Regions from separate parts of the Homo sapiens genome. Here regions 2, 3, 4, 5, 6 and 7 are each linked to region 1. The links are contacts of gene promoters, found by promoter capture Hi-C in blood cells and fetal thymus (Javierre and others, 2016). All regions are on one chromosome and are shown on one strand. The core of a region is centred on a gene start or on the middle of the fragment in contact, and the rest is flanking DNA. Distances in the headings are between cores, read along the strand shown.

What was found. Contacts are between HindIII fragments. The CHiCAGO score rates a contact against its expected background, and 5 or more counts as called.
Region 2: a contact is called between a fragment that was not itself captured here and the fragment with the promoter of ACTR6 in region 1, in 1 of 17 cell types (total B cells). The highest score is 10.6, in total B cells.
Region 3: a contact is called between a fragment that was not itself captured here and the fragment with the promoter of ACTR6 in region 1, in 2 of 17 cell types (naive CD8 T cells and non-activated CD4 T cells). The highest score is 9.2, in naive CD8 T cells.
Region 4: a fragment that was not itself captured here is called in contact with the fragment with the promoter of ACTR6 in region 1 in 1 of 17 cell types (naive CD8 T cells); the score reaches 6.5 in naive CD8 T cells.
Region 5: a fragment that was not itself captured here is called in contact with the fragment with the promoter of ACTR6 in region 1 in 4 of 17 cell types (naive CD4 T cells, naive CD8 T cells, non-activated CD4 T cells and 1 more); the score reaches 11.2 in naive CD4 T cells.
Region 6: a contact is called between a fragment that was not itself captured here and the fragment with the promoter of ACTR6 in region 1, in 5 of 17 cell types (total CD4 T cells, naive CD8 T cells, fetal thymus and 2 more). The highest score is 10.1, in total CD4 T cells.
Region 7: a contact is called between a fragment that was not itself captured here and the fragment with the promoter of ACTR6 in region 1, in 1 of 17 cell types (neutrophils). The highest score is 5.8, in neutrophils.

Annotation. Positions count from the first base shown.
Region 1 is chr12:100,199,391-100,202,090 of GRCh38, forward strand. It overlaps ACTR6 (actin related protein 6), which reads left to right and starts at 1,425. Exons shown (of 11, transcript NM_022496.5): 1 at 1,425-1,529. The coding sequence starts at 1,462. RefSeq lists a silencer at 369-728 and enhancers at 1,221-1,515, 1,489-1,688, 2,533-2,700. The HindIII fragment of the contact is 11,223 bases long and covers 1-2,700 here.
Region 2 is chr12:98,614,111-98,616,810 of GRCh38, forward strand. It overlaps a transcript of IKBIP not described here. Among named protein-coding and RNA genes, the nearest start is that of SNORA53, 16 kb to the left of the region's middle. The HindIII fragment of the contact is 2,195 bases long and covers 272-2,466 here.
Region 3 is chr12:101,839,680-101,842,379 of GRCh38, forward strand. No RefSeq gene overlaps it. Among named protein-coding and RNA genes, the nearest start is that of GNPTAB, 10 kb to the left of the region's middle. The HindIII fragment of the contact is 1,998 bases long and covers 280-2,277 here.
Region 4 is chr12:102,127,759-102,130,458 of GRCh38, forward strand. All of the region lies in intron 2 of PARPBP (PARP1 binding protein), which reads left to right. Among named protein-coding and RNA genes, the nearest start is that of PARPBP, 8.9 kb to the left of the region's middle. The HindIII fragment of the contact is 9,864 bases long and covers 1-2,700 here.
Region 5 is chr12:102,051,416-102,054,115 of GRCh38, forward strand. All of the region lies in intron 2 of WASHC3 (WASH complex subunit 3), which reads right to left. Among named protein-coding and RNA genes, the nearest start is that of WASHC3, 9.2 kb to the right of the region's middle. The HindIII fragment of the contact is 4,399 bases long and covers 1-2,700 here.
Region 6 is chr12:98,508,135-98,510,834 of GRCh38, forward strand. No RefSeq gene overlaps it. Among named protein-coding and RNA genes, the nearest start is that of TRW-CCA4-1, 5.2 kb to the left of the region's middle. RefSeq lists an enhancer at 235-778. The HindIII fragment of the contact is 8,186 bases long and covers 1-2,700 here.
Region 7 is chr12:102,109,659-102,112,358 of GRCh38, forward strand. NUP37 (nucleoporin 37) reads right to left here. Exons shown (of 10, transcript NM_024057.4): 3 at 2,450-2,574. Among named protein-coding and RNA genes, the nearest start is that of NUP37, 9.1 kb to the right of the region's middle. The HindIII fragment of the contact is 4,522 bases long and covers 1-2,700 here.

The sequences.
Region 1 (2,700 bases), core at 175-2,674:
GAAAGGCAGGCCGACGTTGGCAGGGTGCGAGGAGGCCTTGGAGAAAGGAGGGTGGATGGGGCAGGCCCCCAGGGGAGGCAAGGAGCGCCGACAGAAGGGCCCAGGCGCTTGCAGGGCGCGAGTTCCCACCTCAAGCACCGTGGCGGCTCCCGCGCTGCGCACCTGGAAGTGCGCAGGCTGCTCCGCCGCCTCGTCGGCGCGCTGGTAGCTGAAGCAGGCTTCTGCTATGTCCAGGTGGCCGAGGGGCAGCGGGTCGTGGGGGTTCTTGAAGTAGCAGAGGCAGCAGCGGCGCCCGTCCAACACGAACCGACGGCTGCGGTAGCCACGCAGTCGCGCTGGTTCCCGCGCGGTACCCGCCCCGGGCTCTGCAGCCTCCCCATCGCCGTCGCTGCCCTCCTCTGCCCGGGTTCCGGCCCCGGTATGGCTGCCTGCGCGCCAACCGTTTGTTCCCCGGCCCCCGCGCCTTCGCGCTGCGGCTGCTGCGCTCCCTGCCCCCGCGGTGCCCCCTTCCCGCCGCCCCGCTCCTCTCTCAGGCGCTCAAAGTGGCCTGGAATTTGTAGAACGCCCCCCTCCAAGCCCGTTGGCAGTTGTCCTAGCCCGCTGGCCCTTGCCCCCGCCCGCTGGCCGTTGCCCCCGCGACGCCCCGGAAGCCAGGTCCTGCCTCCCGCACCTGCCAAGTCCCCGCCCTGCCGGAGTCTCGCTCTGTCGCCCAGGCTGGAGTGTAGTGGAGCCATCTCGGCTCACTGCAACCTCCGCCTCCCCGGTTCAAGCAATTCTCCCGCCTCAGCCTCCCGAGTACTTGGGATTACAGGCGCCCGCCACCTCGCCCGGCTACTTTTTGTATTTTTAATAGAGACGGGGTTTCGCCGTGTTGGTCAGGCTGGTCTCAAGCTCCTGACCTCAAGTGATCTGCTTGCCTTGGTCTCCTAAAGTGCTGGGATTACAGGCGTGAGCCACCGCGTCCGGCCCAAAAGCCTTTTTTGGATGAGAAAGACTCACTCAGCTTCGTCCTGAAGAGCAAGTGGGCTGGGGAAGAGGAGAGTATGAATGTGAGTCCAAGAGCAAGTTTTGCACTTTTTTCTTCAAAGAATGTCACCGTCTGAAGAATGCGATTGGAAGACACACACACACACACACACACACACACACACGCAGCCGGTTCTCTACAGGATTAGAAAAAACTTGCGCGAATTAATCTGCGTAGTTAAAAACAAATACGAAATGAGCGAGAAAGCACATAGTAGTCAAATCTCGCCACCACATAAACAGGTTAAGTTTGGAAGCACAGCCCCTAACATTCGGTGCTGCTTAGCATCTCCGACTTCCGGCGTCCTCCGTTGCTAAGGTGACCAGAGGCGCGTCCTAACGCTCCGCCCAACAAACCATAGAGTACCGGAAAAAGCTCGAGCAGAGGGGTCGGAAAGGGAAAACAACTACGGCTGCGGTGTGGTTGGTGGTGAGATGACGACCTTAGTGCTGGATAATGGAGCTTACAACGCCAAAATCGGTTACAGCCATGAAAATGTGTCGTAAGTACTTTCTTTCTCCGAGGGACAAGATATATACGCCTAGTGGTTTCATGTGCTACGTTTCATCTCCGGACATCAATGAACTGCAGACACCCCCGCGCGGCCCTGACTTAGCCAGAGGGATTCCCTGGTTGGAGCTGGGTGGGTGATTGTGATGCTTTGAATTGAAATTGATTTTGGTTTTAGTTTTGGGCTGCGAGGCCCCGGAAGTGGGATATATGTTTTATTTCGTAACAGGAAATAGCCAAAGAAAATAGGCTTATAGAGATGCGTTCCTGACAGAAGGGTCCGTAAAGTTCATCAGCCTTTGGAAACTATGGGCACGGTGTTTGGGTGTATGCGGATTTTCCTGGGTACAAGATTATAGGTTTCATTAGATTCTCAAAGGGTTCTATGACCCTCCAAAAGTCTAAAAATCACGGTCTTAGGATCTAGAGGCTTTGAAGACTTTGGCCTACTGGCCGACCTAGTTGGTAAGGTCAATTAAACAGAAGTACTGTTAATACAATGGCATTCATAACATGTATAGTCATAAAATATATGTTTGAATAAATAAGCAAACCTAAAGACACGCCTTTCCTTTATCAAATTAACAGAGCATTAAAAAAAATTCTTTCCTTCCTCCCTCCTTTCCTTCTTTTTCATTTCTTTTGAAACAGAAATGAAAGAGGGAAATCAAACTGAGTAGGAATGTAAATTGTTACAATCTTTCTGGAAAACGTTTTGGCAATGTGTATCATTATCATTGTCACCGAGGCTGGAGTGCCGTGGTGCGATCTCAGCTCACTGCAGCCTGAATTCAAGTGATTCTCCCGCCTCAGCCTCCAGAGTAGCTGGGATTATAGGCGTGCACCACCACTCCCAGCGAATTTTTTGTATTTTTGTTAGAGACGGGGTTTCATCATGTTGGCCAGGCCGGTCTCGAGCCCCTGGCCTCAAGCAGTCTACCCGCGTTGGCCTCCCAAAGTGCTGGTATTAGGGGCGTGAGCCCTACACCCAGCTGACAAAGCAATTTTTTTTTTTTTTTTTGGAGAGGGAGTCTGGCTCTCTTGTCCAGGCTGGAGTGCAGTGGCACGATCTCGGCTCGCTGCAACCTCTGCCTCCCGGGTTCAAGCCATTCTCATGCCTCAGCCTCCCAAGTAGCTGGGACTACAGTTGCGCACCACCACGC
Region 2 (2,700 bases), core at 119-2,618, 1.6 Mb before region 1:
TTTACACTTGTAATCTTGAGACCAACATCTTTTGCCATGGAAGTTGTACTTTGGTCTACTTTTGTAATGTCTTGAGAAAGCGTCGTCAGACTGTTGTTCAGTATATCCTGTTTTTCAGTTATCCTATTGGACCAAGTTTTTACCTCATTAATTTCTTCCTGTAGACGCTTTAGATGAGCAATTATTTGAAAAGACTTCAATTGTTCCATGATAGCTTCAGATTTCTGCCACTATAAGAAAATATAATATCACAATGATTAAATGTATTAGAAGCTTACCATTTAAAATTCATCTTAAATTTTATATTTCTTTTTAATTTTAATTTTTTTTTTGAGACAGAGGCTTGTTCTGTTACCCAGGATGGAGTGCAGTGGCACGATCTTGGCTCACTGAAACCTCCACCTCCTGGGTTCCAGCGATTTTCCTGACTCAGCCTCCCAAGTAGCTGGGATTACAGGCACCCGCCCCCACCTCAGCTAACTTTTTTTGTATTTTTAGTAGAGACGGGTCTTCACCATGTTGGACAGGCTGGTCTCGATCTCCTGACCTCTGGTTATCTGCCCACCTCGGCCTCCTAAATCCATGCCTGGGATTACAGGCGTGAGCCACCACGCCCTGCCTTATGTTATTTTTTAACTACACTTTACTGTTCTTCTGGAAAGCATATGGTAAAAGACGACTTCAGAAGTAAGAGAATTTAGAACAATGTAAGTGAATTACTAATGAATAAGAAGGAAACATTAAGAAAATTTCATGAAATGTCCCTGGAAATTACATTTTTTACATTATAATATTTTCACAATTGGTCTTCTGTACAGTAATAAAATGAGCTACATGAGACAGTGATGTGGTTTTTCAGTTGCTGGAGAAGGGAAAAGGAAGTTTCCTCCAGTTGAGCTTTGCTAGGTGAGACAAGGCAACATAAGTTCTTTTTTATTTCAGCTTTATTAAGGTATAATTGACAAATTAAAATTGTATATATTTATTGTGTACAATGTAATATTTTGATATACATATCTACGCACATATTGTGAATGATTAAATCAAGCTAATGAACATATCTATCACCTCATGTATTTTTTTTTGTAGTAAGAATATTTAAGATCTACTCTCCTAGAAATTCTCTCTTTTTTTTGGAGATGGAAGTCTCACTCACTCTGTACCCAGGCTGGAATGCAATAGCCCCATCTCTGCTGACTGCAACCTCTACCTCCTGGGTTCAAGTGATTCTCCTGCCTCAGTCTCCAGAGTAGATGGTACCACAGTTGTGTGCCACCACGCCTGGCTGATTGTTGTTTAGTAGTGACAGGGTTTCACCATGTTGACTAGGCTGGTCTGAAACTCCTAATCTCAAGTGATTCGCCCGCCTCGACCTCCCAAAGTGCTAAGATTATAAGGCATGAGCCATCGCGCCCGGCCTCTTAGCAATTTTCAAGTATATATTATTATTATTTACAGTCATCATACTATACAATAGATCTCCAGAACTTATTCATCCTGTTTAACTGAAACTTTGTATTCTTTAATCAACATCTCTCAATTGTCCTACCCTGTCCCCTCCAATCCCTCGTAACCATTCTACTCTGTACTTCTATGAGTCTGACTTTTCTAGATTCCACATATAATTGAGATCATGCAGTATTTGTCTTTCTGTGCCTGGTTCATTCCACTTAGCATAATATCGTTTAGGTTCATCCATGTAGTCACAAATAACAGGATTTCCTTCTTTTTAAAGGGAGAACCGCATTTTGTGTGTGTGCGTGTGTGTTATTTATCATTCATCTGTTGATTGACACTTAGGTTGATTCTACATATCTTGGCTATTGGGAGTAATGCTGCAATGAATATGGGAGTGCAGAAAACTCCTTGACATACTGATTCATTTCTTTTGGATATATATCCAGAAGTGGGATTGCTGGATCATATGATTATTCTTAGTTTTTTTTTTTTTGAGGAACCTCCACACTGTTTTCCATAATGGCTATACTTTCCCACTCACAGTGTACGATGGTTCCCTTTTCTCCACATTCTCACCAACACTTGTTATCTTTTGTCTTTTTGATAATAAATATTCTAACAGGTGTGAGTTGATATCTCATTGTGGTTTTAATTTTTCATTTCCCTGATAATTAGTGATGTTGAGCATTTTTTTCCATATACCTGTTGGCCATTACTATGTCTTCTTTTGAGAAATGTCTATTCATGTCCATAGCCCATTGTTTAATTGGGTTTTTTTTTGCTATTGAGTTGAGTTCCTTATATATTTTGGATATTAAGCCATTCTCAGATTTATGGTTCATGAGTATTTTCTCCCATTCTATAGGTTGTCTCTTCACTCTGTTGACTGTTTCCTTTTCTGTACAGAAGATTTTAGTTTGACACAATCATATTTATCTATTTTTGCTTTTGTTGCTTGTTCTTTTCAGGTTCTATTCAAAAAAATCTTTCCCAAGACTAACGTCAAGAAGCTTTTTCCTCATGTTTTCTTCCAGCGGTTTTCAATTTCTGGTGTTACATTTAAGTCTTTAATTCATTTTGAATTGGTTTTTGTATATGGTTTGATATAAGGGTCCAGTTTCATTCTTCTGCATAGGATATCCAGTTTTCTCAACAGCATTTATTAAAGAGATGTCCTTTCCCTTTTGTGTGTTCTTGGCAACTTGGATGAGAATCATTTGAACATACACTTGTAGAAGTATT
Region 3 (2,700 bases), core at 29-2,528, 1.6 Mb after region 1:
GGGAGGCCAAGGTGGGAGGATCACTTGAGCCCAGGAGTTTGAGATCAGCCTGGGCAGCATAGTGAGACCCTGTCTCTAAAAAAATAAATAAATAAAAAATAAATGGGCACACCATGGGGTAGCCCTGCTCCACAAAGAGCAGTAAAAAAATTTTATGCCAAATAAATAAATATTTTTAAAAGGACGGAGGAAGGGAGGGGAGCAAATATGGAAAGAGTTGGGGCGGGGGGTGATGCCACCTTCTTCCTGCAACATTCCTTCATCGCCCTCTACTGGCAAAGCTTCACATCACACTCACTGCAAAAGAAACGCTTCAAAAGAAGTCCAATTCATTAATACACAGCAAGTTCTGAAGGAGTGAATTTGGAACTGAGAGGCAACAATTGATTATTGGCATATCCTTGAAGCCAGGGTTCTAGGTGTGGTTGAAGTTCTCCTAATCAGGTGAATTCACAGAAGATTTCAACCTGGAAGTAAGCTACATGGAGAGAGAGAGGCAGTGCAAAGGGCGCCTGTTTTGGCTGGAGTGAGTGAGTCAAGGCAGGTGTGGTGCAGTTGGAAGCAGCTTCCTGCCTCTGTAGAAAGCATCCTGATCCTGCTCTTTCTGATCCCGGCAGCGTCAGTAGCTCCCTTGACAGCTTAGTTCAGTGGAGTATTAGGACCTGATCTTACAAATTCAACCTAGTAGTCTCTATCTAGAATACTGTCATAGGTAAAGGCTCTTTGTTCAGACCTCCTGAGGGCTTATGGGTAGGCCAACTTAATCCCTTTCTGTTTAAATCAGTGAATAGATTCCTTAATCTACAAATAATTACCCTGACCAAAATAAGGTAAGAGAACATAGCTTGTATAATAGTAAAACTCCTTGGAATTCATTGACTCTTCCTTCGTTGCCTAGCACATTGTCCATTTTTGTAAAGTTTCAGGTTTGCTCAAAAAGAAAATATTCTCACCAATGGCTTTGGCTCATGCCTGTAATCCCAGTGCTTTGGGAGGCCAAGGTTGGAGGGTCGCTTGAGCCCAGGAGTTTAAGACTGGCCTGGGCACATCGTGAGACCCATCTCTATGAAAAGAAAAAAAATTAGCCGCGTGCAGTGGCTCACGCCTGTAATCCCAGCACTTTGGGAGGCCAAGGCGGGTGGATCACCTGAGATCAGGAGTTCAAGACGGACCAGCCTGGCCAACATGGCGAAACCTCGTCTCTACTAAAAATAAAAAAATTAGCCAGGCCTGGTGGCGCATGCCTGTAATCCGAGCTACTCAGGAGGCTGAGGCTTGAGAATCGCTTGAACCCGGGAGGGGGAGGTTGCAGTGAGTCGAGATTGTGCCATTGTACTCTAGCCTGGGTGATAAGAGTGAGACTCCATCTCAAAAAAAAAAAAAATTAAATTAGCTAGGTGTGGTGGTACAGACTTGTAGTTCTAGCTACTTGGGAGGCTGAGGAGGGAGGATCACTTGAGCTGAGAAGTTTGAGGTTACAATGAGTTGTGATAGCACCACTGCACTCCATCCTGGGCAAAAGAGTAAGACAAAAGAAAAGAAAAGAAGGAAAGGAGGAAGAAAGGAAGGAAGGGAGAGAGAGGGGGAAAGAAAGAAAAAGAAAGAAAGAAAGAAAAGAAAGAAAGAAGAAAGAAAGAAAGAAAAAGAAAAAGAGAGAGCGAGAGAGAGAGAAAGAAAGAAAGAGAGAGAGAAAGAAACAAAGAGGCTGGGCTCAGTGTTTCACGCCTATAATCCCAGCACTTTGGGAGGCCAAGGTGGGCGGATCACGAGGTCAGGAGATGGAGACCATCCTGGCTAACATGGTGAAACCCCGTCTCTACTAAAAATACAAAAAATTAGCCGGGTGTGGTGGCAGGCGCCTGTAGTCCCAGCTACTCGGGAGGCTGAGGCAGGAGAATGGCGTGAACCCCAGGAGGCAGAGCTTGCAGTGAGCCGAGATCAGGCCACTGCACTCCAGCCTGGGCAACAGAGTGAGACTTTGTCTCAAAAAAAAAGAAAGAAAGAGAGAAAGAAAGAAAGAAAGAAAATTCCCTCTGTGTATTTTTCTGTCTGTCTTGTCTCTCCTGTCTCCCCCTTAGTTCCTAATTTCTTCCCTGTTTAAGTTCTCACAAACCTCAGGATCAATATGAAGTCCACTGTGATGTACTTTGCAGAATCTACCTATTTGCAAAAGCTAACTCCTACCCTCATCTTTGTACCTGGTGTTTGAAAACTGGATCAATTTTCTGATCTCCAAGCATTTGGAACTTTCTTTAGTTTTCATCTCCTTAAAACCAAAGCTTCCAACCCCACCGGAAACAAACAAACAAGCAAACAAAACACCCAAAGCAGTGAGCACTCAATATATATATTTGATTATCCATAAATGCTGATTCTCTAATTCATTGCAATGTCAAGTTCATAATTAAATAGGGAGACTTTTGCATTTTGCATAGTCTGCTTTCCAGAATACTGTCAGGGATACTCTGATATTTTGCTATAATGCTTTGGCAGTGCTCTAGATGTATTAAACTCACTGTAACCAATCCCAGGAGCACAGTAAAAGTCCAAGTGATGCCAACCAACAAGGAAATTTCAGAGTTAATTTATCCAAAGTATAAATATCACAGTGAAAGAGTAATAACTGGTGCTTCTGACATTTTAGGCTAAAGGAACGAATAAATGAATGTGGCAAGAACCCCTAGATTATACCAAAAGAAG
Region 4 (2,700 bases), core at 39-2,538, 1.9 Mb after region 1:
ATATTGTTAATAAAACAGAGCAGTTTGTATTATGGCTAAGAGTAAATGCTAGGGAGTCAGTTGGCTTGGGTTCACAGCCTAATTCAGCCTTTTGACTGAGTGGCCTTAGACAAATCACTTAATTTTTAAAAAAAATTAGTTTTTTAAATTGACAAAAAATTGTATTTATTTATCATGTACAATATATTTTGAAATATGTATACATTGTGAAATGGCTTAACTGAGCAAATTAATATGCATTACCTCACATTCTTAACATTTTTGTGGTGATAACAATTAAAATGTATTCTCTGAACAGTTTTCAAGGATACAACAGTGTTATTAACTAGCAACACCATGTTGTACAATAGATCTCTTGAAATTATTCCTCCTAACAGAAACTGTATATACTTTGATGAGTATCTCCCCATCCACCCCACCCACTGTGTCCCCACATCCCCTAGTAACCATCATTGTCTTTCTACTTCTATAAGTTCACCTCTTTTGTTTTTTTGATGGAGTCTCACTCTGTCTCCCATGCTGGAGTGCAGTGGTGCAATCTCAGCTCACTGCAAGCTCCCCCTCCCGGGTTCACGCCATTTTTCTGCCTCTGCCTCCCTAGTAGCTGGGACTGCAGGCACCCGCCACCACACCCGGCTAATTTTTTGTATTTTTAGTAAAGACGGGGTTTCACCGTGTTAGCCAGGATGGTCTCGATTTCCTGACCTCGTGATCTGCCCACCTCGGCCTCCCAAAGTGCTGGGATTACAGGCATGAGCCACCGTGCCCGGCCTGTAAGTTCAACTTTTTAACACACCACTTGTAAGTGAGATTATGTGGTGTTTGTCTTTCTATGCCTGTCTTACTTTCCTTAATATAATGTTTTCCAGGTACATCCATGTTGTTACAAATGACAGGATTTCTCTCTTTTATGGGGCTGAATAGCATTCCATTGTGTATATATACCACATTTTCTATCCATTCATCCATTGATGGATACTTAGGTTGATTCCATATCTTGGCTATTGTGAACAATGCAGCAATGGCCATAGGAGTCCTGATCTCTCTTCACTACTGATTTCATTTCCTTTGGATATATACCCAGTATTGGGATTGCAGGATCATATGGTAGTTTTATTTTTTGAGAAACTTTCATACTGTAATGCTTATACTAATTACATTTCCACCAACAGTATACAAAGGATTCCCTTTTCTTCACATTTTTTTTTAACACTTTTATCTTTTCAATAATGGCCATTCTAACAGGTCATAATTTATTTTGGTTTCCATTTGCATTTTTCTGATGATTAGTAATGTTGAGCATTTTTTATATACCTCTTGGCAATTTGTGTGTCTTCTTTTTGGAAATGTCTATTCAGATCCTTTGTCCAATTCTTAAAAAACGATTATTTTTAAAATTCATTTTATTATTTAGAGACAGAGTCTCAATATGTTGCCCAGGCTGTACTTGGACTCCTAGGCTCAAGAATTCTCCTGCCTCAACCTCTGAAGTAATTGAGACTGTGGGCATACGCCACTGCATCCTGCTCTTTTGCCCATTTTTTTTTTAATGGGGTTGTTTTCTTATTGAGTTTCTTATATATTTTGGATATTAACCTTTTATCTGATACATGATTTGGATATATTTTCTCCCATTCCATAGGTTGTCTCTTCACTCTGCTGATTGTTTCCTTGGCTGTGCAGAAAGTTTTTAGTTTGATATAATCCCATTCATGTATTTTTGCTTTTGTTTTCTGTGCTTCTGGGTTTATGTCCAAAAAACCATTCCCCAGACCAATGTCATGGAGTTTTTCCTCTGTTTTTTTCTAGGACTTTTGCAGTTTCAAATGTTAAATTTAAGCCTTTAATACATTTTGATATTCATTCTTCTAGCCAATGAGCCTGGAATGTTTTTCCATTTGTTTGTACCTTCTCTGATTTCTTTGAGCAGTGTTTTGTAGTTTTCATTGTAGAGATCTTTCACCTCCCTGGTTGACTGTATTTCCAGGTATTTTATTCTTTTTATGGCAATTGTGAATGAGGTTGCATTCCTGATTTGCCTCTAGACTTGACTACTGCCCAAAGCAATTTATATATTTAATGCTAATCCTGTCAAACTTCCAGTGACATTCTTTGCAGAGCTAGAAAAAGCTCTTTTAAAATTCCTATGGAACCCAAAAAGACCCCAAATAGCTAAGGCTATCCTAAGCAAAAAGAAGAAAGCAGGTGGTATCATGCTACCTGACTTCAAACTGTATTAAAGGGCTACAGTAACCAAAACAGCATGGTATTGGTAGAAAAACAGACACATAGACCAATGGAACAGAATACAGAGCCCAGAAATAAGACCACACACCAACAACCATCTGATCTTCAACAAAGCTGATGAAAACAAGCAATGGGGAAAGGATTCCCTATTCAATAAATAGTGCTGGGATAACTGGCTAACCATGTGCAGAAGATTGAAACCGGACCTCTTCCTTAAACTACATACAAAAATCAACTCAAGATGAGGGACTTACATATAAAACCCAAAACTGGAAAAACCCTGGAAGACAACCTAGGCAATACCATTCTGGACACAGGCATGGGCAACGATTTCATGATGAAGATGCCAAAAGCAATTGCAACAAAAGCAAAAATTGACAAATGGGATCTAATTAAACTAGAGAGCTTCTACACAGCAAACAAAACTATCAACAGAGTAAACAGACAACCTAC
Region 5 (2,700 bases), core at 62-2,561, 1.9 Mb after region 1:
CCTTACATTTGAATACATGTATCTTTGGAATTGACATAAAAATATATTACATCAAACAGACATAGCATAGCAAAGAAGTGAATGAGTCTAAAAATAGATTTTAATATAGCTATAAGAAGGTACTTGTACTGCACTCTCTCACTTGAAGTTGACATAAGCATGCTTCTTAATCAGATAAAGCAGTGCAATGTAAGAAAGCAATGAGATATTGACTTTTCCAGTTAAAAAATCAGTGGGAATCCAGTTCTGCTACTTTCTATCTGTGTATGTGCAGCTAATGCAGCTACAACTACTGGGGGCATGCAAAGATATGTTGAATGAATGAATGACTAAGCAAATGATTTAAACTTCTCTACATCTTAGTTTCTGTATCTGTATGAGTGGGATAACTAAACCTCTCTCAAAGGACTGACTGCGATAATTAAATACACATAAAGCACTTAGTATGATGCCCAGCACAGAGGAAGTACACAATAAATATTAGTTGTTATCTCATTGAGCAGTCTCCAGCTGACATGAATATCCAAATTGCTAAAATATATATTGTAGACAATCAGTTACAGTCAACCCTAGATTATCATACATAAAGGAGAAAAAGGTGGGACAACAGCAAGATGGGGGAATAGGACTTTCCAGCACTGATCCTCCCACAGAAACATCCATTTGAAAAACTATTCACGCACGAAAATACATTCTCAAGAGCTAAGGAGACCAGGTGAGAAATTACAGCACTGGGTTTAGCACAAAAGTAAGAAAAAACACACTGAAGAGGGTAAGAAGGACAGTTTTACAGAACTCATGTCACCCTTCCCCCAACTCCAGGCAGCACAGCATGGAGAGAGATACCCTCCAGGTGGGCGAAGGAGAGGCAGTGAGCACAGGACTTTGCCTTGGACCACAACACCAGGCCCACCCCAGCAGAACTCAGTGCTGAGCAAGCCCCCTCAGCCCAGACTCCAGGCTGACACCTGCAGGCGAAGCCTTTAGGCCCATCCTGGCACTAGGCTGGATCACCCAGTCCTGAGTTCTAGGCTTGTCCCACTGGGACCGTAGGTTCCAGACCAGCTCAAGGCTCAGGACAGTCCCAGCACCAGGCAAGACTGCATAGATTGTCTCCAGGTCTGCTCTAGGGACAGGCCAGCCCCAGTGGCCCTAGGTTCTGGACCAATCCCAGCACAGGGCTAGCCTCCATGGGCCCAAGGTTCAGGCCCACCCCAGCACCAGGTCAGCTCCTGCAGATATAGGTTCCAGGCCTGACCAGTGCCAAGTCAGCTCCTGTGGCCCCAGTCTGGCTCCTGCAGCCCATACCCTAGTGGAAGTAGGGTTTAGGCCCATCCCAGTAGGCCCTTCTGTTGGGCTGACACCCATAAACACAGGCTCCAGGACCATCCCTGTGGACTCAAGTTCCAGGCTAGCCACTATTGCCGTAGGACCCAGGCCAGCCCCATGTAGCCCAAGTTACCAGGCCAGCACCTATAATCTCAGGCTCCAGTCTGGCCCCTGTGACCCCAGGCTGCACACTTGCCCCAGCACCAAGCTGGCCCCAGACAAATCCCTGTGGTGAGTCAGGGTCTAGGTATGTTCCAGCAGACCCAGAGTCTGGGACCACCCCAGTAGATTGCATTGCCAGATTGGCCCCCATGGACGGAGGCTGCAGGACCACTCCTGCAGACTCAGGCTCCAGGCTAGTCACAGTACAACCAGGACCCAGGCCCACCCCCACATACTCTGGCTCCAGGTCCACCCCAGGGGTTCCAAGCACCAGGCCCACCTTGGAACCTGGCCAGACACTGCAGACTCAGGCTCAAGGCTCACCCCAGTGCCAGACCAACCCCTGCAGACTTAGGCTTCAAGTTGGAACCCTAAGGATCCAGGCCCACCCCTATAGAGCTAATCAGCAGGTCCACCCCAGTGGATCAGGCTCCAGGAACAACCCTACGAACCTAGGCACCAGGCCAGCCTACCCAAGGACTCCAGCAGCAAGCCTGCCATGCACCACAACAGATGGCCTGTCTAGAACCTCTGGATGAGCTTACTGGTGAAGGGCTTTCCCAGACAAAGCCAGTCTGCAAAGACTGGAGTAAGTCCTTACTTCTTCAAACACACACATACCAACACATGGCCACAAAGACCAAGAATAATCAGAGAAACACGTCACTACTAAAGAAACAAATCACCAGTAACTGACCCTTCTTCACAACGAATCCAAAATTATTGTTTTAGGGAAACTCAGTGGACTTCAGGAAAATTCAGAGAAACAATTCAATGAAATCAAGAAAATAATAAATGACCAAAATGAGAAATGTAACAGAAAGATTGGAATTATTATTTAAAAAATCAAACAGAAATTTTAGAGCTGAAAAAAAAATGTATACAGTCAAATTCAGAATATTCTAATACTGTCATGGTGATTAAATCACTTATATCTTTAGTATGAAAGTTAACAGACAAAACTATTAAAAATAATAATAGCTACAATAACTTGTTAAGGGATATGCAGTATAAAAAGATATACGTTGCAAAATCAAAAGCAAAATGTGGAGAGGTGGAGTAAAAGTGCAGAGGTTTTTTATGTTATCAATTATGTTATTATCAGTTTAAAATAGCCTGTTATAACATGTTTTATGTCAGCCTCATGGGAACAACAAAGCAAAAACCTAATAGTAAATACACAAAAGATGAAAAGTAAGGAATCAAAGT
Region 6 (2,700 bases), core at 35-2,534, 1.7 Mb before region 1:
GTGTAGCAGTGAGGACAACCAGAGGTCACTCTCATCGCCATCTTGGTTTTGGTGGGTTTTGGCAGGCTACTGCAACCTGTTTCACCAGCAAGGTCTTTATGACCTGTGTCTTTTTTTTTTTTTTTTTTTTTTTTTTTGAGACAGAGTCTCACTCTCGCCCAGGCTGGAGTGCAGTGGTGCAATCTCAGCTCACTGCAACCTCCACCTCCCAGGTTCAAGCAATTCTTCTGCCTCAGCCTCCTGAGTAGCTGGGACTACAGGCACGCGCCACCACGCCCAGCTAATTTTTGTATTTTTAGTAGAGACAGGGTTTCACCATGTTGGTCAGGCTGGTCTCGAACTCCTGACCTCGTGATCCACCTGCCTTGGCCTCCCAAAGTGCTGGGATTACAGGCGTGAGCCACCGTGCCCGGCCTATGACCTGTATCTTCTGCCGACCTCCTATCTCGTCTTGTGACTTAAAATGCCTTAACTGTCTGGGAATGCAGCCCAGTAGGTCTTTTCTTTTTTTTTTTTTTTTTTTTTTGAGACGGAGTTTTGCTCGTTGTCCAGGCTGGACTGCAATGGCGCGATCTTGGCTCACTACAACCTCCGCCTCCCGGGTTCAAGCGATTCTTCTGCCTCAGCCTCCTGAGTAGCTGGGATTACAGGCATGTGCCACCACGCCCAGCTAATTTTGTATTTTTAGTAGAGACAGGGTTTCTCCATGTTGATCAGGCTGGTCTCAAACTCCCGACCTCAGGTGATCCACCCACCTTGGCCTCCCAAAGTGCTGGGATTACAGGCATGGGCCACCGTGCACGGCCTTACCCACCCTTTTTTCAACATGGAGGTGCTGTGATTCAAACCCCTCTAACATCAGGACCCCAAAAATGACTAAGCCAAAGGGAAAGTCAAGCTGGGAACTGCTTAGGGCAAACCTGCCTCCCATTCTACTCCTAAAAAAAAAGATAGCTACTAAGATAAAAAAGCTATATATACCTCCCTCACAATTTGACCACAAAGAAATTCCTTGTGGACAAAGGACAGATAGAGATTTAAAAAGTCATCCCTCTGCTCATATGAGATAAATGCATATCTGATTGCCCTTTTGTTTCCCTAAGCCAGACTAACATAAGTGACTATTCCTGTAAATAGTGTATTCAGTGAAAGGCTAATCAGCAACTCAAAAGAATGCAACCATTGGTCTTTTATCTACCTATGACCTGGAACACCCCGGAGCCCCCCAACCCCCACTTGTATTAATAGCTGTCCCGCCTTTCTGGATGGGACCATTGTACATCTTAAACATATTGATTGATGTCTCATGTCTCCCTAAAATGTATAAAACCAAGCTGTGCCACACAACCTTGGGCACATGTCGTCAGGACCTCCTGAGGCTGTGTCATGGGTGTGTCCTTAACCTTGGCAAAATAAACTTTCTAAATTGATTGAGACCTGTCTCCGATTCTCTTGGTTTACAGAGCGATGTATTCTGGACGAACTAATAAAATTGAGCTTTTGGACACGCAGAATTGAAATGCAGACCTGAATTCTGATAAGCCAAATGGTTCTCCAACTTAGCACTCTCACTTAAAAAGAAAAATATGGTTTTAAAATCATATGTGTTCATTGTGGAAATCTAGGGAAATACAGACATATAAATAAAAAGAAAATAAGAATCACCTGTGCCTCACTATCCAAGAGAAAGTACTCCACTTTGATGTATATTATTTTTTTTCTTTTCTTTTCTTTTTTTTTTTTTTTTTTTTGCCTCCCCAATAGCTGGGAGTACAGGAGCACACCAGCATGCCAGCTAATTTTTTTTTTTTCTTTTTTTTTGAGACTGAGTTCCGCTCTTGCCCAGGCTGGAGTGCAATGGCGAGATCTTGGCTCACTGCAACCTCCGCCTCCCAGGTTCAGGTGATTCTTCTGCCTCAGCCTCCCAAGTAGCTGGGGATTACAGGTGCCCACCACCACACCTGGATAATTACTGTATTTTTAGTAGAGACAGGGTTTCGCCACGTTGGCCAGGCTGGTCTTGAACCCCTGACCTTGGGTGATCCGCCCGCCTCGGCCTCCCAAAGTGCTGGGATTACAGACGTGAGCCACCGTGCCCGGCCCCACCTAATTTTTGGTTATTTTTAGTAGAGACTGGGGTCTCCCTATGTTGCCCAGGCTGGTCTCAAACTCCTGAGCTCAAGGGATCCTCCCACCTCAGCCTTCCAAAGTACTGGGATTATAGGTGACAGCCACCAAGCCAGCCTCATATTCTTAAATGTCAAAACATGATTTTTTACTACTGTGCATTATTTTGTCATATGGATATATCATAAACAACCAATTCCTTACTATTGGAGATAGAGATTTTTTATTTTTTTCACCATTATAAATGAAGCAATAAATACCTTTATAAATGAATTCCACATTTGATTTTATCTTTAGAATAAATTATCAGAAATGGCTTAAGGGAGCTAAACTTTTTTTTTTTTTGAGAGACCGAGTCTCGTTCTGTTGCCCAGGCTGGAGTGCAATGGTGCCATCTCAGCTCACTGCAACCTCCGCCTCCCGGGTTCAAGGGATTCTCCCACCTCAGCCTCCCAAGTAGCTGGGATTACAGGCGCATGCCACCAGGCACGGCTAACTTTTGTATTTTCAGTAGAGAGGGGCTTCCACCATGTTGGTCAGGCTGGTCTCGAACTCCTGATGTGATCTGCCCGC
Region 7 (2,700 bases), core at 32-2,531, 1.9 Mb after region 1:
TTGTATAGTTCCAAAAAGGTCTTGAGACAGTTTACCAAAAAATAAGAAAAATCCAACCAAACAAAAACACCAACCAGAAATGATGAAACACAGCAAATTCACTAAAAAGAGGACAGGAAAACAAGTACTAAGCAACAAGGAAAGCATAGAATACAACAGCTGAATATGTAGATTAAAGAGGTATCACAAAACTTAAAACCAAGGGAAGAAGACTGTTTCCACAGCTTTAAAAATTTAAAGAATCAAAGAGACTTGTTCTTGTTTAGGTCTAGATATTGTGACCACTTTCTTTTAATATAAAAGGAAATCAACAGCACACCAGCTGTTGGCAATGACATTACGTGTGCTGACAAAAGCTATTGTGTAGATTATTCAATTAAGTTAGCTAAATATCGGTAAAGGCTTCTAGGAAAAAACATGCAACATCTTCACAACCTATAAGAAATCACACAAAGATTTCTAATAGAAGAAACAAATATACCAAAAAAGCGTCAGCATTATCACTCATCATGGAAATGTCATTGTGGCATCAACCAGAATGGCTAAAATTAAAAAGACAGGCTGGGCACAGTGGCTCATGCCTGTAATCCTAACACTTTGGGAGGTCAAGGTAGGTGAATTGCTCGAGCCTGGGTGCTCGAGACCAGCCTGGGCAACATGGCGAAACCCCATCACTGCAAAAAATACAAAAAATTAGCCGGGAGTGGTGGTGCATGCCTGTAGTTCCAGCTACTTGGGAGGCGGAGGTGAGAGGGAGGGTTGAGGCTGAGCCAAGGGAGGTTGAGGCTGCAGTAAGCTGTGATTATGGGTCTGGCTGTCAGCCTGGGAGATAGAGTGAGACCATGTACCAAAAAAATAAAAAAAAAAAAAAGAAAGATTGACAATAGCAAATATTGGAGAATAGGCCAGGTATGGTGGCTCATGCTGTCATCCCAGCACTTTGGGAGGCCAAGGCACATGGATTGCCTGAGCTCAGGAGTTTGAGGCCAGCCTGGGCAACAGGCAAATCCCTGTCCCTACAAAAAATACCAAAATTAGCCAGGCATGATGATGGGCGCCTATAGTCCCAGCTACTCAGGAGGAGGCTGAGGTGGGAAGACGGCTTGAGCCTGGGAAGCAGAGATTGCAGTGAGTGGAGATGGTGCCACTGTACTCCAGCCTGGGCAATAGAGCCAGACCTTGTCTCAAAATGAATGAATGAGTGTTGGAGAGTAGGAAGACCACCCTTAGATTATTGGGGAAAAGACAAAATGGTAGAACCACTTTAGAAACTGGCATTTTCTTAAAATGTTAAACATACATCTACCCTGTGACTCAGCAATTCTACTCCTAAATTAAATCATATAACCACCCAAAGCAGTATTCAGCAAAAAATAATAACTAAAGCCTAGAAACTGTATTGGTACCTATTTACAGAAGAATGAATAAACAGACTATGGTCTATTGATACACTGTAATGGAGTACTACTTAAAAAGCACTGGTATACATAACAATGTGGAAAAATTGCAAAAACAAGCCAGACACAAAAGACATTCTGTATGATCCCACTTATATGAAGTTCTAGAATAGGCAAAACTGATTTCTGGTAATAGAAATCAGATCAATGGTTGCTTCTGCAGGGAGTGGGGTACAATGATTAACTGGGAAGAAGTATGACGAAACTTTCTTGGGTGACAGAAACAGTGCATGAATAGGGTGTGGGTTGTACAAATATACGTATTTGTCAAAACTGATCAAACTATACCCTTAAGAGCTGAGAATTTCAGAGTATCTAAATTATCCCTTAATTTAAAAAAAACGAAGTTAGCTTAATAGTTGATAACTTTTAGTTCCTAAGTACTGTCTACTAAAAGAAGACACATCTTTTAGATTTGACATTTGTAGAAGGCAAGGCTAGTGTTTTGTAACAGATCTTAAATAACCTAACATATTCTTGCCCCTGTAAAGAGGGCTTCAGCAGGCATTGCTAGGATTTTTTTCTCAGAAAACCATCATTCCTTTTAAACACTTTCACAAAAACTGAAGTCCAGGACCAGAACTTACAGATTTATATACTGTTGGACAAAAAAATGTGATCTTGGCCTATGGGTGGGGAAGGAAAGCTCATTAATGTCTCAACCAAATTTAGTTATTTTAAGTTATACTTTCAATAAAGTTGTAAATTCAGTGAACAATCTGTAAAGACCTTGATTCAGATGAATCTCACGTAAAAGGTTTTGTAGTTTGGCTCAAACACATGGTCAAGGCATCATAGTCATGGCTGTATATTTAAATCACAAATTCAGATGATAAGCCTAAATTATTAAGTAGTAGCAAATATCAAAATATCTAATATCTTGGATTGTGGAAAATGGAAATTGAGAAAAAAGTATCTATGATCAGACTTCCAATCATGTAACACAATCAAAGTACATTAGTAAGGAATGCATTTGGTACTGTTAAACTTACTTGATTACTGGAGGCAATGAATCAAGTCTAGTCTCTGGGCTCCAAGCTATGCCATCAACCCTGACTCCATGGTGAAATGTTCGAAGTGTTTTATACTGAATGCCTTCAACGTCTGCTTCTTCTTCCTAAGCATACACAGTAAATGTTTTAATAAGTAATGAGAACAAACAATATAATATTCTGTATTTCATTATAATGAATTTATCAGGAGGTTATGCTTATGCTTTTGAAAAGTTCAAAAGCAAATTACA